Linked DNA regions of Homo sapiens: regions 1, 2 and 3 are each linked to region 4. The links are contacts of gene promoters, found by promoter capture Hi-C in blood cells and fetal thymus (Javierre and others, 2016). All regions are on one chromosome and are shown on one strand. The core of a region is centred on a gene start or on the middle of the fragment in contact, and the rest is flanking DNA. Distances in the headings are between cores, read along the strand shown. Region 1 overlaps CPNE3 (copine 3). Region 2 overlaps CPNE3 (copine 3). Region 3 overlaps WWP1 (WW domain containing E3 ubiquitin protein ligase 1). Region 4 holds the start of CA13 (carbonic anhydrase 13).

Region 1 (5,852 bases), core at 3,015-5,514, 1.3 Mb before region 4:
ATCACTATCTGCCTCTAGGGTCTGATCCTATCTTATCTATCCCATGTTTCATATTTTTTTATTATTCCATTCCATGATTATCCTGATTATTCCAATCCATACTAAGGTGTTCCTTTGAATTCCTATTGCACTAATAGTAACAGATTACTGCATTACAGGAACAAGATCAAATTTGGGGTAATGCACACACCCAATTTTTTTTTTTTTGAGACGGAGTCTTGCTCTGTCGTCCAGGCTGTACTGCAGTGGCGCGATCTCAGCTCACTGTAGCCTCCGCCTCCCAGGTTCAAGCAATTCTCTGCCTCAGCCTCCCAAGTAGCTGGGATTTCAGGTGCCCGCCACCGCCCGGTTGAACCCTCCATCTGGCACTTGCTGTGTGACCACGTATAAGTAACTTCAACTTCCTGGGCCTAGATTTCCTCATCAGTAAAAATGGAGATAATGCAAGTAAATTTGTAAATCTGGCACGTGCCAGGCATACTGTTTTTTTGCATCTAATACAGAATCTGTAAAATAAATGTGAGTTGTATGATTTTTTTTTGCATAAGGTAGTTTAGAGTCTTGTAAGTTGTATGTCAGCAATATCAAGCATAATGCAGTGCCCTGTGGATGAACATAGAATGAGCAACAATAGCTAAAGCTTCCCCCAAAAAAACATGTAGAGGATTCTCTACCAGCCAGCAGAAAAGTCTTCAAATTTCCAAGGATGGGAAGAATTCAACAGAGAATGAAGACATCTACATGTGAAGTCAGTCTCACAGCAAAGAGACACCACATATCAGAAGAGCATTATTTTTTTCCCTAAAAATGCTTATACAAAAGCTACAAAAACAACATGCCAGGCACAGCTGATTATTTAACCAATTGCTGACAGTTATACTACTGCATTGCTGCCAGGAAACAAATTTCTTCTATTAGCAGCATTCCTCTCTGAAAAATGACTCTGTGCTGGTCTCAATGTTATCCTGAAACCCATTATGGCTGAATGGCAAATGGAAGAAATTACATAAACACTAGGGTCTGGAATCTTGTTAATGGTAATATTCATGAAGATACTGTTTTCATTTCCTTTTAATGTAATTATCCAGTACATGATATACAATTTTTTAAGAGAGCAATAGTATACTTTATCCACAAATCATAATGGGAGCTGGGCATATTGGCTCATACTTGTAATCCCAGCACTTTGGGAGGCTGAGGCAGTAGGATTGCTTGAGCCCAGGAGTTCAAGACCAGCCTGAGCAACAGAGACCTCATCTCTACAAAAACAAAAAATTTTAGGCTGGGCGCAGTGGCTCACACCTGTAATCCCAGCATTTCGGGAGGCCGAGGCAGGTGGATTATCCCAGGTCAGGAGTTTGAGACCAGCCTGGCCAACCTGGTGAAACCCCGTCTCTACTAAAAACACAAAAATTAGCCAGGCATGGTGGTACATGCCTGTAATCCCAGCTACTCAGGAGGCTGAGGCAGGAGAATCACTTGAACCTCAGAGGCGGAGGTTTCGGTCAGTGAGATCACGCCATTGCATTCCAACCTGGGCGACAGAGCAAGACTCCGTCTAAAAAAGAAAGAAAGAAAGAAAGAAAAATGAAAAAATTAGCCAGCCAAGGTGGCATGCACCTGTAGTCCCAGCTACTCAGTAGGCTAAGGCAGGAGGCTCACTCAAGTTCAGGAGTTCGAGGCCACAGTAAGCTATGCACTGCAGCCTGGGTGACAGAGCAAGACCCTGTCGCAAAAAAAAAAAAAAAAAAAATTATGATGAGGAAAAATAAAACAAACGTTTTATACTCTTTTAGTATGAAAGATTTGGCTGGGATAAGTCACCTGGCAAAGAATGCATGAGCAACTAAAGAAGAATTCTATGTAGTATTTTACTCCTTAAAGAGCAGGATAGAAAACACAAATAATCCCTAGGATTAGACAACAGCTTCCCTACTGTACAGATTATTACTTGTTGGACAAAATTTGATCCAAACACGTCTTCTGAAATGCAAATAATCCCTAGAAACACCAAATATATCAATAATTCTCCCAGTCACCCTAACGTTCTGAATCAATATTATAACAGAGATAAACATAAGGAGCTGAGAATTAAGACCTAATATTTAAAGTGGTACCTGATATGTGAAATTTAAGGCATCTGGTCATTCCCATGCCCTGGCTGAAAATCCTGAAGTCTTATCTACTTCCTCTTTTCCCATTCCTCCTTAAACCTACTCTTAGATTTATCCAGTAAAGATGTCATAGAGATTCTGCCTACTAGAACCCCAAATCTCTCCCAAACATGGAGATACAGCCGCTTTCCCATACCCAGAGTCACAACCCTAACTTCAGGTCTTCTGTATCTCTCACCTGCCTTATATAATAGTCTCCTAATGGGTATTCCCACTGCCATTTTCTCTCCATTCACATTATGGTTTTATCACTTCTGATTAAAAAGTGATAGTCCAATGAACTAAGCCTGGAATTCATGGCTCTGCCAACATCTACCCCTAATCTACCTGAACAGCTACCTCTGCCCACCCAAGTTCTTCAAGATCCACTTCAGGCCGGGCACGGTGGCTCACACCTGTAATCCCAGCACTTTGGGTGGGCGAGGTAGGGGGATCACTTGAGGTCAGGAGTTCAAGAACTCAGCCTGGCCAACATGGTGAAACCCTGTCTCTACTAAATATACAGAAATTAGCCAGGTGTGGTGGCAGGTGCCTGTAATCCCAGCTACTCGGGAGGCTGAGGCAGGAGAATCACTTGAACCAAGGAGGTGAAGGTTGCAGTGAGCCGAGATGGTACCACTGCACTCCAGCCTGGGCGACAGAGTGAGACTCTATCTCAAAACAAAACAAAACAAACACTTCAAATGATACTTCATTCATACAGCTGTTGCTGATACCCTGCTGATACCCCTCATGCTGTTATGGCACTGATTCTATTTTCTTTCCACTATTGTTACTTGTATTTGTGGCTCATCACTCCGTCTATATACTGTGAACTGTGGGCAGCGAACATATTTTACCACTTCCTCTTCTTCCTGAAGCATGACATCTGGCACAGGTTATTTGTAGCAGAAAGAGCAATAATGCTGGAGTCAGCGTGTGTCATTCAAATTTCTTTCCCATCACTAATTTGGATGTGTCACCTCTGCCAAATTGTCTATCTGAACTTCAATTTCCTAATTTATAAAATGGGGATATTAAAAAACCCTGACACTAGTCCTTCAATGTAAATAAGGCTAAGAGAGAAAAATAAACTTAATAAAAACCCTGACAACTGTAGGTCTGTAGCATGCTCAGCATATAATAGACACTCTATGAATTGTAGCAATTATTTTATTACTGAGTCAGGGATTTTAATTGATTGTCTCAGCATAGATGGCTTGTTATTAAGTAGTAAGACATAAAGCAGCTTTCTCATCCTTACTTATGAAAAGCTTCTTGAAACAATAATGATTTTTGGGATTTACATAAAATTAATTTGGTGAAATAGTCAGCCTTGAGTATAGATAAGGTACGCAGGTGAGGGGAGCGCAGGCTCATGTCAGTGACTCAAAATGTGTCCTAAAACAATTGTGAAGGAGAAGTCGGTGCCTATCTACAAATCCCTTTAGTAAAGTTCCTTCAGTCTTCAGCTGAAAAATGAAGAGACTGGCCTAATGTAAAAAATTCTCAGAAGTTCTTTCTGGTTCTAATACCATGATTCACTAACTGCTATTCTGCAGTACATCCTGCCTGACCGCTATTGAAAGCAAGCAAGGGCAACCCTGGGGCAGCTGGAACCGGCCCAGCAACATCAGCAAAACACACCCTAGGCAGTGTTTCTCAAATTGTGTTGCTCAGAATAGTAATAAGTGTTCCCCTACTAAAAAAAAAAAAAAAAAAAAAAAAAAAAAGCAGCGGGCGTCAGGTAATATGGCTGTAAATCCAAAGGCTGCTATGCTCCTCAGAGTTCCCAGGTCAGACTAGCAAATGTATTTATTACCAGGTTACTGTAAACCCATTATTTTGCTAAGGACAGCAGGGACATTATACAGCAACAGAAGCGCTTGTAGCTCATTATAATCAAATTGGGGAGACCCATTCATAAAACAATTACTTACTGAATACTTTCTAGGTGTTCCAAAAGTGAGGGTTGGGGGAGGCAAAAACGAAATAAATACTTAGCTACTTAGCTAACTATGTATACATAGAAATAGTATACAAGAGTATAAAATTGTGTGGTACAGACAGGGAACAATCAAAGTGCTCTTGGAGCTGAAGAAGCTCCCCAGAGATTTCTACTTTTACTGACGATTAAAACTATACTCCACTACAAAAAGAATTTGCAGTATTATTGCTACTGACTACCAGATTTCTTTTTCACCCTTACATTCAAGGGTAGACAGTAAGAAAGTGGGGAGTAGAAGAATAAGGGGAAAGAAAAGATAGTTAATAATTCCATACAACTGGACAGATTTTGTTTTTTTTTACAATTTTCAAAGTGCTTCCAAATAATATATTATCTTCTGAACCTTACAAAAACTCTGTGAGTTAGGCAGGATAATGATTACTACATGGTGGAAGGTCCATATGTCACAGGTATGACTATAATATAAGGCACTCCAGTGTCTGAATTGATTGACCCAGAATATGTTGATAATTTTCAGCACATTGTTAATCTTCAAAATAATGCATAGTATATATTAGGAAAAAAATATAAATTTCTTCAAAAAGGTTAAATTACTTACATGGGATCACAAAGCTAGTAAGTGTCACCACCACAGCATAAACCCAGGTATTTTCCCCTTTATGCCAAAATCCCTTCAGAGCACTAAAGCCTCTAATTAATAGTTAATTAGCTGTCAAGTAAAAATAGTATTAGTAAAAATAAATAAACTCCATAGATGTAAACAATTATGATTTTTCAATTAAAAACAATATCAAAAAATAGTTACTTAGTATAACAGCAATATTCTCTATTAATTTCCTTAAGTCTTGTTAATATCAAAAGTAATATTCAGCCTGACACAAATTAATAAAATAGGAACTTTAAAATTACAAGGTTAATACTGAGGCTAAAACTAGTTATATGGTTCTTAAACAAACGTAACCAGAATAACAAAAGCTTGCCAAAGAATGGAAGAACTGGAATGGTTTATATTTTATTTACCTCATAGCAGTTCCTCTTCAAGATAACCCATTAAATTGTAAATTACTTAAGGCTAAGAAAGCAAGTTCTCCTTGCTAGTGTGTCTCTACACACACAGGTCTGCCATGTGTGTAGGTGCCATTAGATCGTCTTAGAGCAGCAACATTTATTCTCAGGAATATACTGCACTTAATATCCAGACTCTGAGAGTAAAAAACTCACATTAAAAGAATTTAAACTACGCTTGTTCTGTATTTAGTAACAAAGTGATGCCCAGATGTATTTTTTTAATCACTACCACAGGATACCAGAAATGAAGATAGGGAATAATGTCAAGCATAAATATACATAAAACAAAACAAAAAAGAAACAAAAAGGAAGAATCACTGGATCAGGTGTCAAAAGAAATGGACTGGGCAGATCACCTGAGGTCAGGAGTTTGAGACCAGCCTGGTCAACATGGCAAAACCCTGTGTCTACTAAAAACACAAAAATTAGTTGGGCATGGTGCACTGTAGTCCCAGCTACCTGGAAGGCTGAGGCAGGAGAATCACTTGAACCCAGAGGTAGAGGTTGCAGTGAGCCAAGATTGCGCCACTGCACTCCAGCCTGGGTGACAAAGCAAGACTCCGTCTCAAAAAAAAAAAAAAAGAAATGCCTGGTTCTGTGTTAGTCACACCACAATGGCAGGCATTTGGGCAACTGCTGTAACTTCTCCAGGCTTCAGGTTT
Region 2 (5,864 bases), core at 2,830-5,329, 1.3 Mb before region 4:
ACTACAAATCAATCAATCAAAACAGTCAAGACCGAGAATTTCAATTTTGAGTAACAGAAAGGGATTTTATTTTTTTAAGAAAATGCTTTGCAGGCATTTTGGCCACTGACCAAGTCTGACAGTTTGACTCTTGCCCTACTCAGTATCCAATTTTTAAACCAAAAACCTTTTATATGACTCTTTAATGTGCCAAGGGAAAAGAAATTTAATAATTTCCATAATTTTTAGAGGAAGTAATATTTAGATAAGGTAGAAAACAAACTATCTTAATATTTTAATAAGTTCATGGTTTTTAAACAGACATTTTTCAATTATGGAAAACAGAACTTTACATTTTAGATTTGCAATCAGGGAACACCAATTTATATCTAAGACAAGATTAAGCTTTGACAAGGCCAAGATTTTATTTGAGTAAAGATTATGAAGGGCTAAAACGGTTCATATCTTTAGACTATTCATACGTTAAAATTTCAGGAAATGTAAATAATATTTTTAAACTAAAAATTTTGATTACTCACTATAATAAATATATAGAAAAAGCTCCCTCTTGTCCCCTTGAAGGCAGACATGATATTTATAATGCTGGCATATGTTCAGATACGGTATGAGGTAAGACAATTCGTGTCATTTAATTTCTCTCTTTTCAAGAATTCAAAGACCAGTATTATTGGCTTTTTAAACAATGGTAAGCATAACAATATATGCATATATACATATGCATATGTATATGCAAGTATATAATATATACATGTATTCATATACATTTAATGGATATATAATATACATATACACATGCATATATAGTATACATAATAAACATATGTGTAATAAATAAATAAATGTATACATATATACACATGGGCATATGTATATATGAAAGAGAATGCACACACCACACAGATACTACATTCAGTAAGGCACTCCCATTTTAGGCAAAGTGGCAGCATGCATGATTATTTTTCGTATTCACTTGATCTTAATGAAAATAATACATGCTAGAATGATAACACAACATGGCAAAGAAACTACTGAGGATTCTGACTCTATTCACTGCTCTATAACTCTTTACTATCCCTATAAGCAATTTTCGAACAGTAAGAGAATCACAAATGTATGACTTTTTGATATTGCAAAGAAATGCAGAACTAAATGAAATAAAGTCAGTGATGACGTAGCAAACCAAGTTGTGTATAGTTAAAAACAAACCAAGAAAGTTTTAAGAATGGAAGACATTCATTAGAGAAAGCTCAGAAAATCAGTTTACTTACTATAATAAAATAGCCCTGTAAGCATGCCACTGTGAGCAAAAAAGTTTAAAAGATATTGTTTTGTTGTTAACATATCATTACACACAATCAAATAGTTATGGCTTAGACATTTTCCCCTAGATTTACCTGCCTTCTGACATCTAATGATGTTTACTATTTTTAATATGAAAAGCAAAAGTCTGGATTTGGCAAAATGATAAAAAATAATTTTTATAGCTAATTTTCAACTATTTATTTCGGACCTGGATTTTCACTACTGTTTCAAATACCTTACAAATCATACTTAGATTGATTTTTAAAGTTCTTTACAAACTGGAAGCAATTTTTTATGGATCTCAGTAATGAAGCAGTTTTTTTTTTTTTTTTTTTAAGACACGGTCTCACTCCATCACCCAGGCTGGAGTGCAGTGTGAAGCAATATTGGCTTACTGAGACCTCCTCCTCCCAGGATCAAAGGATCCTCCCACCTAAGCCTCCCAAGTAGCTGGGAACACAGGTATGCGCCACCACACCCAGCTCATTTTTGTATTTTCTGTAGAGACAGTATTTTGCCATGTTGCCCAGGCTGGTCTCAAACTCCTGAGCTCAGGCAATTTGCCCGCCTCGGCCTCCCAAAGTGCTGGGATTATAGGCCTGAGCCACCATGCCCGGCAAAAATGAAGCAGTTTTTCAGTAACAATGGCACCTCTACAAAATTTTTACAAAACTTTCACTTCTGCTAATTTAATTTTTGCTTTTCTGGAAGGTAGAAATTCTTAACTCTATTATAAAAGTGAAGAATCCAGGTGAAGCTTCCTACTAATAAGCAAAATAAATAAATAAGTAAATGTGAAGAAGTGTGGTTACCTGCCCAAGATCCCTTAGCCAGTTAAAGGACTAAGTCAAAACTTGAACTGTGGTCTGACTCCAAATCTTATACTTACTCCTCATTATCCTGCCTGCTTTTACCATATTTATTATCAGAAAAAGAGAAAAACAAACCAAAAAATCCCTTTGATCGACTGAAGTCTGAACATAAAAAAGACCTCTATCTGTAATCATGTAAAGTTAATAATTCTAGTACAAAAGTTTCTTTTATGTATATGTATGTATATATTTTTCATTCTCAACACCACTCCATGAGTTTTCTTTTATTTATATTTTTACTCTTTTTTTAAATAAATGCCTATGAATAAAAACATTTAAAAAAATACTGACATCTGCTATTTGCTGTTCATACTCCACTTCCCTGATACTCTAAAACTAAAGCCTTCTAAAAGCTTTCAATTAATTACTTATCTCATTCTGAAAATAAGGAAGAAAAATGCCATCAATACTGCCCTCCCTTGCTAAGGGCAGAAGCAAGCTCTGAGTTCTTACGGTAACATCTGCTTCTATCTGCAACAGACATACCAAAGGCAAATAATGTAGTTCGAGGTTCCTATTAGCAGAGCAGAGGAATCTTATTAAAAGGAAAAAAATATTAAACTGGACATTTTATTTTTTAAAATACAGAATAAAATAGAAACGACACTGTTTGACTAAGCATTAGGTCAACAGATTAGTCAAACATGCCTACTCCTCAAACTGTGTCACTTACCAGAAGACATTTCTATTTTAGTATTCTACACACATAAAATTTAACTCTGTAGGTGTCTTACATCATTTACTTTCTTTAAATACTATCTTATGTATTAATTTTATAAAATAGGTGAACATGGGTATATTTAAGTATTTTATATATATATAATTTCAACTTACCTTAATGGTTTTGTCCATATCTCCGTAACACAGTGAGTTAAGAGAGATCTTGAAAGGCCTCCAAACAGGATTCAAGTTGTTTTTAACAACCTATAAAAATGTGGTTTCAAAAAGCTGTTAGAAAAACTTCCAGTTCATTAACATTTTGCTCCTGCCCTTCCTAGGTTCTTGCTATACTCTCACCATTCGTCCTCCACCTCTTCATCAACTCAACTATTTCCACAAAAAAACTACCTAGAACAATATTATACAACTGCTACATGAAAAATGTAATAAATTGTCCAGTTGTGATACATTCTGAGGAAAAGTAGAAAACTATTTGGAAAATATATCTACCTATTACAAGGAGCACTTAGGAACTACAGAGGATGGCTGGGCGCGGTGGCTCACACCTGTAATCCCCACACTTTGGGAGGCCGAGACGGGCAGATCATCTGAGGTCAGGAGTTTGAGACCAGCCTGGCCAACATGGTGAAAACCTGTCTCTACTAAAAAAATACAAAAATTAGCTGGGTGTGGTGGTGCATGCCTATAATCCTAGCTACTCAGGAGGCTGAGGCAGGAGAACTGCTGGAACCTGGGAGGTGGAGGTTGCCGTGAGTGGAGATCGTGCCACTGCATTCCAGCCTGGGTGACAGAGCAAGACAACGTCTCAAAAAAAAAAAAAAAAAAAACTGCGGAGGATTATTGATTTTAATAGCAATGAGGGTTTCATTGCAGGGCACAGAAGATTCAAATATGAAATAAGAAAAGGTAAATATAGAATAAGAAACTATGTTGGAATTGAATTGGAGAAATAAGTCCACATTTATAATTTAAAATTTTAATACCATATATACATACATAATAAACAGATAAACACAAATATACATATTTCTTAGCTGTGTCCACTTAAAAGGCATAAAACAATGATATCCAGTAGCAATGAGCACATTCAGCACTCAGATGTCAGTGTCTAAATACTACTACCCTCTTGCAGGAATAGGGCTTATTAAGAGACATGGCTCATACCAGCTCTGGGACAGAAAAAGTACAAGGGGAACTGAGAACATACTCTAACTTAAGAGACTGCTCAAAGATGAATGAAGTCAAAAAGAAAAACCAAGAGCCATTTTAGAGACTACGAGCTCTCTCTAGTCAAACATGGATGAATCTGAGCAGCAAAAATACAATAATGAGTTAAATACAAAGCATACACTGTTATAACAATCCATGAATTTATAATGATACTAAAAATAAAAGCAGAGAAAGAGAGAGATGAAAGAGGAATGCCTGCTAATATAACTAAAAAGGATGAAAGATTTTGAAAAATCACTATTTTACTACCCATAATACAATAATTGATTAGGCAAGGATCACCAATGGATGCTAAAACCACTGGTTGAAGTGCTAGAGAACATGTAATTCATGCAGTCTCATAGTTTCACACCACATAGCACTTATTAATTAAAAAGGGGAAAAATGAGACCTTATCATGGTGAGATCTGGCGGTCACCAGCTTAACCAAGTAGCCAAGCATGACATCATCAATGCTGGGCAGCCTGGCACCATGAGCCTCCTGAAAATGTAAAGAAAAGGAACACACATAGTGTTTTTGACAGAAATGTTTGATCTGGATCTAGTTGTGAGGAAACAGAAGAATCCAGAATGTTGGACATTCTGGTCTTGATTTTCAAGAGATTCAATGGCATCAAGGTATAAGGAAGGTAGGGAGAAGAGTCCTCTATTGGGAATATAATAGTCAAATCCAAAATTTGAGCCTTGACTGGATTCTGAACAAAACAAAGCAAAACAAAATACACACAAAACCTGTGGGACAACTGAGGAAATCTGAAGATTAATGGTATACCAAATAATGTTACATTTAGCTATGTCAAATGTTAATTTCTCAAGTATTATTGTATAGAATGTCCCTGTTCTTTAAACTACCTGCTGTAGCATTTATTTATTTATTTATTTTGAGGTGGAGTCTCGCTCAGTAGCCTGGGATGGAGTGCAGTGGTGCGATCTCAGCTCACTGCAACCTCCACCTCCTGGGTTCAAGCAATTCTTGTGCCTCAGTTTCCTGAGTAGCTGGGACTGCAGGCAAGTGCTACCACACCTGGCTAATTTTTGTATTTTTAGTAGAGACGGGGTTTCACCATGTTGGCCAGGCTGGTCTCGAGCTCCTGACCTCAAGTGATCCACCTGCCTTGGCTTCCCAAAGTGCTGGGATTACAGGCATGAGCCACCACACTTGGTCTGCTGTAGCATTTAAAGATAAGAGTTATTATATCTGTAGCTCCATTAGGATGATTTTGCAAAAGGAAAATACATGTGTGCATAAGTGTGTGTGTGTGTGTGTGTGAGAGAGAGAGAGAGAGAGAGACAGAGAGGGACAGAGATAGAGAAAGACAGAGAGCACAAGTATGTGGGAGTGTGTGTTCATTTGGTGAATCTAGGTGAGGGGTGCAGAGGAATACATTTAGTGTTCTTTATAGGACTTAAAATTTTTCAAAATAAAAATCATAAAGTACGGTAGCACCTCCTCATTGAAAGAAAAAAATATGAACATGGTGATCTTGTGTCTCTGGCTATATGTAAGTATGAACTCAGATTGATACTTTTATAAATATAAGCTTTTTAAAATTCAGATTACAATAATTTCAAAGAACACCTCCACTCTGCTTTTCAAATTCAAATATTCACCTCTGTCCGATGAACCATTAGCCAGTTTCCATCAGATGTCTGCTTGTGGAATTCCAGGTATGGGTCTGACTTTCCAAATAGATCCTACATTTAAAACAAACAACAAAAAGCATTTGTTCTCCTCTGAACCCATGAAACCATGTGTGACCATACTTTACACATGTTGGC
Region 3 (6,249 bases), core at 1,364-3,863, 1.1 Mb before region 4:
TATAAATAATGTGATTTTAAATAACTAGAAGACAACCTTATTAATTCAAAAAGTTGTTCTAGTTAGTAGAATATATAGATTTTTTTTCTCATTTAATGAGTTTCCTTTGGTGTTATACACAGAATGTCCTCCACTCTAAGGTTATATAAGTATTTTTAAACTATCAGAAAATGAGTCACCTGTGAGAGGGTAGGGAGAGTTAACTCAAAAATCCCACTCACAATAACATCCCTTCAAAAAATCTAGTAATAAACTTAAGAAATAAGTAAGAGTCACATGAAGAGAACTATAAAACTTTACCAATGGAAACAAAGGCTTAAAAAAAATGATATGATATATTCCTAGATTTGAAAAGTTTAACATTGAAATATTTCAATTAGCTCCAATTTAATACATTATTTTAAAATAAAAACACCAACTGATTGGTTTTGAGTGTTTTTGGTGGGGGCAGAGGAAAAGGAAGGGAGACTTAAATATTCAAATAAAAGCCAAAGAAAAATCAAGAACAGTAAACGTGTATTTTAAAATGCAAAGTAATAAAAGGAAATTTCTCAAAATATTTTTTTAAAAAGTACCATAAAGTGAAAATAATTAAAATGGTTTGACAGTGATGTAAAAGAGAAGTAAAGAGAAAAGCAAGATACTAATGCATAACAGTGGCATTTCAAATCAATGGGAAGATAGATGAGACCATAAATTTTGAAACATTTGAAAAGAATGAAGTCTATAATTCACACCACTCATACAAAAATAAGTGGTATATGATTTGACACTTTTACTTTAAAAAGTGAAAATGCTTTAGAAGACACAATAGCTAAAAAAAAATTATAAACATGAATACAACAGCCCATTTTTTCTTCAATCTCATCCTTTATACATCTTGCATACTCTATGCTTCTGACAGTTTCCTGTTGAAAGTCTAAAATCTAAAATATCGAAGATAATACACTTCTATATGCTACTATCCTTGAGTAGCTGGTACATTACAGTATATTACTATATGACAATAGGTAGTTTTCTGTTTGATTTTTTCCATCAGTTTTTCCGCGTTCCATGATCAATGCTCTTATTCTTACATGTTGCTGCCAATCAGATAAGGGTTAAGAACAGAAATGAGGATAAGAGTAAATATGCTAAAAATAAAAAAAAAAAATTGGCTTAGGGCAGAGAACCTCGGTTTACAGACAATAAACAGCCAGACTGCAATATTAGAGGGGTCTTAATCTGAGTACTTACTGTTTTTAAAAAGAAAAGAAAAGCCTGGGCGTGGTGGCTCAGCCTGTAATCCCAGCACTCTGGGAGGCCGAGGCAGGCGGATCACCTGTGGTCAGGAGTTCGAGACCAGCCTGGCCAACACGGTGAAACCCCGTATCTACTGAAAATACAAAAAAAAAAAAAAAAATTAGACAGGAATGCTGGCATGCACCTGTAATCTCAGCTATTTGGGAGGCTGATGCAGGAGAATCACTTGAACCCAGGAGGGGGAGGTTGCAGTGAGCCAAGATCACGCCACTGCACTCCAGCCTGGGCAACAGAGCAAGACTCCATTTCAAAAAAAAGAAAAAATCAATACAGAGGTCTTTGTAATCTAATAAAAGGAGCAACAACTTGGAGTCCTAAGACCTCAGTTGGTTTCTCATTATTAACCCAAGGCACTTAATCCCTCTGATTCTCAGTGTCCTCACTGACAAATCAGGAGTAGTAATCTTTATTGCAGAAGTTATTGTGAGATCAGTAAGACTGGTAATTTTAAGGTGACTTTTATTTTAAAAATTAGATCAACAAAACGGAAGACAAAGACAAGAAGAAAAGAAGGCACTAAAACCTGGTGCCATTTAGCACAGGTCCATGATCATTCTTTCCCAAAAGGATCACTGTATTTCAAAGGAGAGCAGCAACTGACGCTCAAAATGATAAATACTGTCATGGCATTGTTTTGGCTACTTAGACTGCCTTGGTCCACATCTATTTTCCAACTGGTTCTCCAGATTTGAGTCACCTGATAGTCTTTCAGTATGTTCTTTTTCACCTCAAATTAGCCAGATCAGGTTTTTCTTTTTCTTTTCTTTTTCTTTCTTTTTTTTTTGAGACAGAGCCTCACTTTATCCCCCAGGCTGGAATGCAGTGACGCCATCTCGGCTCACTGCAACCTCCACCTCCAGTGTTCAAGTGATTCTCATGCCTAAGCCTCCCAAGTAGCTGGGATTACAGGCATGTGCCACTATGCCCGGCTAATTTTTGTATTTTTAGTAGAGATGGGGTTTCACCATGTTGGCCAGGCCAGTCACAAACTCCTGGCCTCACGTGATCCACCTGCCTCGGCCTCCCAAAGTGCTGGGATTACAGGCATGAGCCACCGCGCCTGGCCTAGTTTTTTCTTATTTTACCTAAGAACTCTTATACATAGGTCAAGATCATTTGAAAGTTACACCTCAGGTGTACTGTCCATTGGTCCTACGCAAGTTACAATAAACTGAAAATGTAGTGAAAATAGGGCTCTAAGCTTCTTATACAGAGCAAAAGTAGAAGGAATTATGTAAGTGGTTCTTCAGTGGAGTACCTATCAGCTTCATCAGAACTGTTTCAAAAATAGATGCCCATTATTCACAGAAACCAAAATCCAAATATCCCTTATAGTTCAACCTTACAGTGAGAGAAATGCTATTTTAAATAACACTAAGATACCACTTCAGTGTCTAATTATGAACAATCCCAAAGCTTGACAACAGATTTTGGTTAGGCTTTGGGAAAACAGGCACTGTCATGTATAGCTGGTGTAGACACAAAATGGTGCAGACCCCATGGAGAGGAACTTGGCAATACCTGGCAAAATTACATGTGTCTACCCTTTGACCCAGCAATCTCATTCTAGGATCCTATCCTATTGATACATGAGCAGACATAAGAAACGACTTTTGTATGAAGTTATTTGTTGCAGCACTATTGGTAATAGCAAACAGTGGAACGCCAATGTCCAGCAAAAGGAGACTAGTTAGCTTTTTTACATCTATTCAACAGGATATGGCGCAATGATGAAAAAGAATATTCTGTTATGAAACAAACTCCAGAATAATACTGTAAAGTTAAAAAAAGCAAAGCACAGAGAAGTATGCAAGAATTAGGAGATTAAGAGGAGAGATGAGATACGTATACTGCACATGTATCTGCTTATATTTTCAAAAAGAAGCAACAGAAGGATAAAGCAAAACTAATAAAAATGTGAACCTACAGGGCAAGGGAGAGAAGTGGGAAAATGGGACCAAGTAGCCAGACCTCTCTAAATGTACCTTGGTTTTGACTCTGGGACTATGTAAATGTCTTACAAGGTTATAAAACAAAATTAAAAAAAAAACTGAAAACGATGAACTTAACTAATTATCAATTTGGTGATATAACCAAATAGAGAATTACTAAAGTACATTAAAACATGGTATTTTGATTATACGTCCTAAAGGGGGAAAACACACAAAGAAATCTTAAACTGCAATGAGTAGACCTATTGTTTTTGGTAATTTTTTAAATTACCTTTTTTTCACCTCCTTCTCCCTCTGTTTTTGGTAATTTTCATGTTATTTTGAACTGGTGTAGTAGGATAAAAACAGATATTATGATAATGTCATTTTGAATGGAGATTTTTTGATTAAGAGGAGAGAGTTACAGGCCAGGCACAGTGGCTCAATTTGGGAGGGTGGTGCAAAAGGATTGCTTGAAACAAAGAGTTCAAGACCAGCGTGGGCAACATAGTGAGACCCTGTCTCTAAAAAAATTTTTTTTTAAATTAGCCAGGCAAGGTGTTGAACATCTGCAGTCCCAACTACTTGGGAGGCTGAAGCACGAGGATCACTTCAGCCCAGTAGTTTGAGGCTACAAGGAGGTATGTTTGCGCCACCGTACTCCAGCCAGGGAGAGAAAGTGAGACCCTATCTCAAAAGAAAAAAAAAGATATGAATATAAAGTCAAATTAATTTAAATTTTGTTTCCTTTTAGTAGAAAATGGTACTTATAGACTACAGTTATTATTATGAATTGGAAATATCAGCATGAACTCAGGATGTTAAAATATTTTTTATTTTTTGCTTTCTACAAGAAACATTTCCTAGCTCTGTTAACTGAAACCTCCTAGAAATAACTAAATTCATATAATGAGTACCATGGGAATTACAGTACTGTGTAATCCCACTTAAATATTTGCCCAATGATTGAACAAATGGCTAAATGTATGTAAGAAGGCCTTTGGCATCCTGCTCCATCCTATTAATCATTTAAGGGCCAATGCAATGATACTTATTCAAAAGCCCAAATTCTCCCACCATTACAGAGGCTATATCTTCTCTTCATCCAGCATAGGTTCAATAAATATTTACTGAATAAATAATATAGTTTTGGAGGGCATCTACCTTTGAGGCTTGTTGCAACAAATATGCCATAGTATGAATCTAAAAGAAATTCTATTTCTGGAATAAGTCTGCTGAATTAGGTATTCAAAAGAAAAGTTCATCAGGGAATCACCATATTAAATATAAAAATAACTTACCAGTTACCTGTAACTGCAACCTTCCACTGTGGTTATTACTAGTATCAGACCTTGGTGAAGCAGTGGCCATGTCCCAAAATTCAGCTAAAACCTATTTTAAAAAAGGGGAATTTATTCATGTGTTAGATAAGAGTTTGTAATTTTCAAGATATTAAAACTACTTGTTTAAATCAACTAAGAAGTTCTCAAAAAGTACATGAAAATTATCAAGCCTATTACCATCCCATTAAAAGAAAACCCTAAAGTTAGTTGAAATAACAGAAAAAATGGTGAGTAGTAAGCAAAAATAAAAATAAACATTAGAATGTTGCCCTGGATATGCCTGCTACAGGAACAGACAAAGCACTGGGCCTGCTACAAGGGGAAGGAGTGAGATTCCCATACCAAGCAAAGGGCCCAAGTCAGTAGAAACTCCTAACATATGGCAGAAGCATATACGTATGTTTTAGGAAAGTACCCCAATTTAAGCCATTGGGAGTACCTAAGACGAAGAGCAACCAAGTCTGAGTCTATAATCTTAAAAATCAAATTTATATGAAAACAAGCCACCAGTCTGGGCAACAGAGCGAGACTCTGTCTCAACAACAACAAAAATCTCTATCCAGACAAGACAAAATAAAATTCACAGTCTACATGGGGTGGGAAGCCTCAAAATACAGTAAAAACTACAGGAAGAAATTGACAAATTGGCCATTGTTGTGGGTGATTTCAACACATCCCAATTAATCATAAGTCAAGCAGACAAAAAAAATAATAATGAACAAGCAGGATTTAATAACATCAACAGAACCTCATAACCAACTATCAGAAAATAAAAATTTTTCTCAGGTATTCATGAAACATGAGTGACAAACAAAAAAAATACACTGAAATATAATGAAAATCTCACTAAATTTCAAAAAATGTTCTAAGTTTCTGTCCGTAATACAATTAAGTTAAAAATCAGTAACAAAAGATAAATTTGAAAACTATAAATAGAATTTAAAAACACTTCTAAATATTTAGTGAATCAAAAGAAACCATGTTGGAAATTACAAAAAAAAAAAAAACAAACTAAGAACTGAAAAACAAAAATACCACATATAAAAATGTGTGGGAAAAGTTATACTTAGAGGCAAATTTATAGCCTTAAAGACATACTAGGAAAGGAAAGGTTGAAAACTGATGTGTTAGTAGGTCATCTGGTAAGTCTGAAAGAGAAAAATAGAACAAACCCAAAGAAAGGAGTTAATAAAGAGCAGAAACTAATGAAGTAGAAAGAAGGTAACAGAAAGGATCAACAAAGTCAGAGCTACTTCTTAGAAAACACTAAGATAAATAAATGTCTGATAAGACTAACGAAGGGGAAAAAAATGAAACAAAATAGGAAGCCCTAAAACAGACCAATGCATATAAGGACAAACCCACATAAAAGATGTAGCAATGCAGATCCATGAGAAAAGAGGGACACTTAAAGAAACCTGGAATTATCCATATGGAAAAAAAATGAAACTGGACCCCTACTGCACATCATATATAAAACCAATTCAAGATGGACCAATGACATAAATATGAAAGGGAAACAGTAGAACTTTTAGAATAAATTACAGCAGAAAACTATTGTTTTGTGTCCTCTCAGGATGGAAGGATTTCTTAAGAGACAGGGGCATACTAACCAAATAAGAAAAGTGTGAATATTCACTCCTGTAATCCCAGCACTTTGGCAGGCCAAGGCG
Region 4 (5,600 bases), core at 1,074-3,573:
TGGCCAACATGACGAAACCTTGTCTCTACTAAAAATACAAAAATTAGCCAGGCATGGTGGCTCATGCCTATAATCCCAGCTACTTGGTGGGGCTGAGGCTGGAGAATCGCTTGAACCCAGGAGAGGGAGATGGCAGTGAGCCAAGATAGTGCCACTGCACTCCAGCCTGGGCAACAGAGCAAGACTCATCTCAAAAACAACAAACAAACAAACAAAAAACTTGCCTAGTTAGTATATAATACATTTCCAATAGGATTTTCCCAATCTTTCTCTGAAGACCACACCTTTAAGTAAGGATGTGGTCTTCAGAGAGAGATCGCATCTAAAAGAAAGGAATGGCTAATTCCTAACAGAACAATTCCTAACAGAAATACAAAATCACTCCTTATTAATGGCTTTGCTAAGATGAATTTTTAAAATTGCTGAAATAAGCTTCATTCAGGTGAATAATTTCTAACCTACTAAAGAGTAATCAATATCCATTGATTGATTGATTGAAATACCCTTCTTCTTCCTAACTACCATAAAGGCGCAGTTGGGATTCAATGACTATTAAATAACTCCAATAAAAACGACTTCAGCAGAGAGGGAAATGAAAAAAGATTTGTCATATTTTCCCCCTAAACATTCACTGGAAATTAGCAAAATGTAAGATTATAATTATGGCCTTAATCAAGAAGAAATCTGACTATACACCTTTTATTATTAAAGTTATAAATTTCACCTGCTGCCATTTTTAAACTAGCATGTTTAAAAACAGGCTACAATTAGAAATTAAACAGGCTACAATTAGAAATAGAATTTTTCTGTTAGTTTGTGAAATTAAACTTTCTATAAAATTTGACCATTCTATACTGTTTAATCATGTACATGCTAATAGAAGGAAAGCATTATTATTCACAGCCTTAATTTTTTTCTTTATTATGTATTTACTTCTTAAATTGACAAAAATTGTATATATTTATGTGTACAACATGATGTTTTGAAATATATGCACATTGAGGAATGGCTAAACTAAGCCTTAATTTTGACAGTTATTCACTATAAGGCTTTTTGGTGTCACTGCGATTATTTCAAATAATTATTATTTAAACAATCAGTTCAGTTTAACGTAGGAACAAGAAAAAATGTTTTACTTTTGATAATGTGTGATATACAAGAAGAAAAGTGTATGTCATTATTATTTATCCTATTAATACATTTCTATCAATGAATTATAATTTCAGTAATCCTTTGCTCACCCTGCAAGGATGAGCGTGGAGAAGAAGAGTGGAGAAGTAACCCACAATGTAACTTAATTTCCCAGCGAGAACCTGAACCCTTACTAAAGTCCCCAGTAGTAGTCAGCCAACTGCAAATTGCTGTGGGAATATTTACAGTAACAACTATTAGGAAACATGCAGTATTTTGTTTGCCACGAAGCCAACTTAATCTTCAGTGTCACAATGCAAGTTAAGATTTCCTAAATATATTTTTAAAGATTTTCTATGATTTGTTTCTCCTAAGTGAATAGTGAGCTTAAAAGACTGAAAGCGAACTTGTCCTTATTTCACTGAAGTGTGTCATCAGACTTCTGATCTCCAAGCCTGTAATTGATACGTGGCTGTTACTAGGCAAAGTCCTTGGCTTTTCAGATGAAGGTGAACTCACACGTATGAACACTTGGGAGTTTGGGGAATCCTGACAGAGATAACACACACCAACGCTCACATCCACCACCAACAACCCGTCTACCCTGACAAGACTGCTCTCCGCTTCTCGCACTGGGCTCCCAGGAGTGCTGCTTAGTTTAAAGAGGAACCGAAAAAGTTTCTCAATGTGCGAGCCCAGTGTGTGGTCAGCGAGCGCCGGGGCGTCGCGCTAGTCCTCTCGTCCCCCGCACAAACCCCCCCTTGGATCAGGAAAAGGCGCTCACCGTTGTGCTCGCGGTATCCCCAGCTGAGCCTCGACATGGTCCCTCGGGGTGGAAGGAAGAGAAAGATGTGACTGAGCAGCGAGAAAGAGGAGGGAGCGGGGAGGGGCCCGGGAAGGAGCCTGCTAGGGCGGGACCGCGGGGCGCCGGCGGCAGGAGTGCGAGACCGTGAACCCGGTCCGGGGCGCTCCCGCCTGCGTCCTCCAGACGGCAGAGGCGTGCGGGGAAGGCGCCCGCGCCGCTGGCTGACTCCTGGGGCGCGAGTCTCTCTTAGTTTGGACTCGGGAATGAGAGATTTGAGTTAGAGGGAGAGACGGAGAGAGAAAGGTTTCCGGGGGGGATCTCCTGCCTTCTGAGGAGTCGTCACTCGGGAGAGGAAAGTGTTGCCTAGAGGACTTCCAGGAAGTGAATGAGTCACCAGAGCCTGGAACTGCCAGGCTGGGAGGTGGGGATCCCGGTGGAGGCGTAAAAGAGGTCGGTGATGGTCGTGGCAGTGATGATTACAAATACAAAACAATAATGACGATGGTAATCACCACCACTGAAAAATAACTACTTATTAAGGGCTTATCGTGGGCGAGGGTCTTAGCTAAGACGTGTACCCACGTTTTCCCATTAGATCCTCTCAGCATTTCCTCGAGAAACACGTGGCTTAAGTTAGAGACACTATGTAACCTGCCCCGGGTCGCTCAGCTAAAGCGGGCGGGGTCGCTGTTAGAGAGGACCAGCTCCCGGTCCTGGGCTGGCTCCATTGCCCATTCATCCTTTCCTTACCTCTTCTCACTCTGCAGGCTTGTGGCTTGGTGAGTGAGGAAACCAAAACCAGTTGTTGAGATTTGGTCCCAAAATTCTGCTGCCCTCCTGACCCCGCAAGAAGGGTTTTCAGGACATCTGCCCTGGATTCTTGGTGGGCTTGTTACCCTAGGACTGGAGTCAGAACTAGCTGCAGAGTCTTGAATTTCTGGCCTGGAGTCGTGAATGTTCTGGGTTCAAAGTGAAAAATAAAAATTGGGTACATGAACCACTTTCTACGTCCTTGTCTCGGGTCAACTGCCTCATATTTTATAAATCCAAGCAACCTCTTTGTAAGGAACCTAGTAAACCAATTTTCAGTAACTCGGATGATTTGGTATGTCAAGATGAATAATGCTCTTAACGTTCTAAGTAAGTATCAGTTCTTGACACCCAATAATAGTGGTTACATGAATGGATGAATGACTGAATAGACCAAAATTGTTAAAGAAATTTTGGTTGGTGGGTCTCAAATACTTCCCAAATTGTTACTTTTATTGCTTGGGTACACAGTTTGTAACCACCCAATGGGTTTACCTTGCCCACTGTCAAGACACAGCTGATTTATCAAGACAGGGGAATTGCAATTCATAAAGGGAAATTCACGTAGAGCCGGCTGTGCAGAGGACTGGAGTTTTATTATTACACAAATCAGTCTCCGCAAGCATTGGGGATCAAAGTTTTTAAGGACAATTTGGTGGGTGGAGGAGAGCCAGTAAGTCGGGAGACCTGGTTGTTTGGGTCAGAGGTGAAATCATAGGGAGTCAAAGCTGTCTTGCATTAAGTCAGTTCCTGGGTGGGGGCCATGGGATCAGATGAGCCAGTTTATCGAGCTGAGTGGTGCCTGCTGATCCATCCAGTGCAGGGTCTGCAACATATCTGAAGCACTGGTCTTAGGCTTTACAATAGTGATGTTATTCCCAGGAGCAATTTGGGGAGGGTCAGAATCATACAGCCTCCAGCTGTATGACTCCTAAACCATAATTTCTAATCTTTTGGCTAATTTGTTAGTCCTGCAAAGGCGGTCCAGTCCCCAGGAAAGAAGGTTTGTTTTGGGAAAGGGCTGTTATTGTCTTTGTTCTAAACTATAAACTATGTTCCTCCTCAAAGTTAGTTCAGCCTATGCCTAAGAATGAGTAAGGACAGCTTAGAAGTTAGAAATAAGATAGAGTTGGTTAGGTCCAATCTCTTTCACTGTTTCAATTATAATTTTGCAGTAGTGGTTTCAAGTTCCTTCTTGTTTAAATTCATAGCGCAGTCTATATAATTTTCTAAAACAGCAACCTAAGTATTGGCAACAATCAAATTACCTTTCATAGGAAACTAGTTAGGTCATCTGTAGAGCATCCATCATTCAATGGACTTATATATATATATATTTTTTTCAGATGGAATTTCGCTCTTGTTGCCCACGCTGGAGTGCAATGGTGCGATCTCGGCTCACTGCAACCTCCACCTCCCAGGTTCAAGCAATTCTCCTGCCTCAGCCTCCAGAGTAGCTGGGATTACAAGCATGCATTACTAGTGGCTAATTTTTGTATTTTTAGTAGAGATGGGGTTTCACCATGTTGGCCAGGCTGGTCTCCAACTTCTGACCTCAGGTGATCCACCCGCCTCGGCCTCCCAAAGTGCTGGGATTACAGATGTGAGCCACTGCGCCCAGCTGCCATTCAATGGACTATTGTCCATTTATAAAAAGAATGAAGATCTCCATGAGCAGAGCAGATATAAAGTGAGTCCTGGGATGTATTGAGGTTGCGGGAGCGGGGGAAGCAAAGGAGCAAAAGAGTGTATATAATAGACTGCATGTTTAAGAAAAAAATAGAAATAAGAAACTGCACACATATTTTCAGATTTTTACCAAAAAAGTAGAGAAAAAGCCATAAATTAATAAAAATAGTTCCTTATAGAGGATGAGTGTGAATGGGGTGGAAGTGTCAGAGGCAATGGAACCACAGCAACTCCATTCAAATCTTATTATATGCTAATTATAATGCATTCACATGCTAAAAGACACTCCCACCAGCCCCAGGACAGTTTACAAATACCATGACAACATTTGGAAATTACCCTATATGATCTAAAAGTGGGAGGAGACCTCAGTTCTAGGAAATTCCCACCCTTTTCCCAGAAAACTCATGAATAATCCACCCCTTGTTTAGCATGTAATCAAGAAATAACCATAAAAAGTAGACAACCAGTTGCCCTTAGGGCAACTCTGTCTATGGAGTAGCCATTCTTTTGTTTCTTTTTTTTTTGAGATGGAGTCTCTCTCTGTCGCCCAGGCTGGAGAGCAGTGGCACGATCTCAGCTCACTGCAACCTCCACCTCCTAGGTTCAAGTGATTTTTCTGCCTCAGCTTCCTGAGTAGCCGGGACTATAGGCGCCCACCACCACGCCCGGCTAATTTTTGTATTTTTAGAAGAGACGGGATTTCACCATGTTGGTCAGGCTGGTCTCGAACTCCTGACCTCGTGATCTGCCCACCTCGGCCTCCCAAAATGCTGGGATTACAGGCGTGAGCCACCGCACCGGCCCCTTTTTTTCTTTACTTCTCTAATAAACCTGCCTTTACTTTACTCTGTGGACTCAACCCAAATTCTTTCTTGCATGAGATTCAAGAACCCTCTCTTGGGGTCTGGACTGGGACCTCTTTCCAATAACAGAGGGAGAGGGATAAGTGAAACTTCTCAGTGTATCTTTTTGACTTTTAATCATAAATGTCGTAAATTAACTTTAGCCTAAAGCTGCCTCCTTACATATTTTAGTCCAGCTTAAAGTTTTCTGTGTATATAGTGAACTCTAACCTAACTAGATGTGTAAATAGACTGTAGCCCACTCTTGTGCCAATCACTGAATGTTGGCCAATCAAAGGCAGCCAACTGTTCAAACCCTG

The links. The method cuts DNA at HindIII sites, captures the fragments that hold promoters and counts their contacts. A CHiCAGO score of 5 or more calls a contact.
Region 1: a fragment that was not itself captured here is called in contact with the fragment with the promoter of CA13 in region 4 in 2 of 17 cell types (naive B cells and total B cells); the score reaches 7.8 in naive B cells.
Region 2: a contact is called between a fragment that was not itself captured here and the fragment with the promoter of CA13 in region 4, in 1 of 17 cell types (neutrophils). The highest score is 5.9, in neutrophils.
Region 3: a fragment that was not itself captured here is called in contact with the fragment with the promoter of CA13 in region 4 in 7 of 17 cell types (total B cells, M2 macrophages, naive CD8 T cells and 4 more); the score reaches 6.1 in total B cells.

What each region holds. Positions count from the first base shown.
Region 1 is chr8:86,520,583-86,526,434 of GRCh38, reverse strand. The region is part of intron 2 of CPNE3 (copine 3); the gene reads right to left. Among named protein-coding and RNA genes, the nearest start is that of CPNE3, 9.1 kb to the right of the region's middle. RefSeq lists enhancers at 2,978-3,027, 3,048-3,147. The HindIII fragment of the contact is 1,670 bases long and covers 3,430-5,099 here.
Region 2 is chr8:86,537,479-86,543,342 of GRCh38, reverse strand. CPNE3 (copine 3) reads right to left here. Exons shown (of 17, transcript NM_003909.5): 7 at 5,697-5,780; 8 at 3,009-3,098. Among named protein-coding and RNA genes, the nearest start is that of CPNE3, 26 kb to the right of the region's middle. The HindIII fragment of the contact is 3,099 bases long and covers 2,530-5,628 here.
Region 3 is chr8:86,372,406-86,378,654 of GRCh38, reverse strand. It overlaps WWP1 (WW domain containing E3 ubiquitin protein ligase 1), which reads right to left. Exons shown (of 25, transcript NM_007013.4): 3 at 4,535-4,625. The coding sequence starts at 4,604. Among named protein-coding and RNA genes, the nearest start is that of WWP1-AS1, 31 kb to the right of the region's middle. The HindIII fragment of the contact is 215 bases long and covers 2,506-2,720 here.
Region 4 is chr8:85,242,181-85,247,780 of GRCh38, reverse strand. It overlaps CA13 (carbonic anhydrase 13), which reads right to left and starts at 2,323. Exons shown (of 7, transcript NM_198584.3): 1 at 1,916-2,323. The coding sequence starts at 1,952. LOC105375936 (a long non-coding RNA gene) reads left to right here and starts at 4,296. Exons shown (of 3, transcript XR_929126.3): 1 at 4,296-4,436. RefSeq lists an enhancer at 1,519-1,628 and a silencer at 1,989-2,068. The HindIII fragment of the contact is 11,713 bases long and covers 435-5,600 here.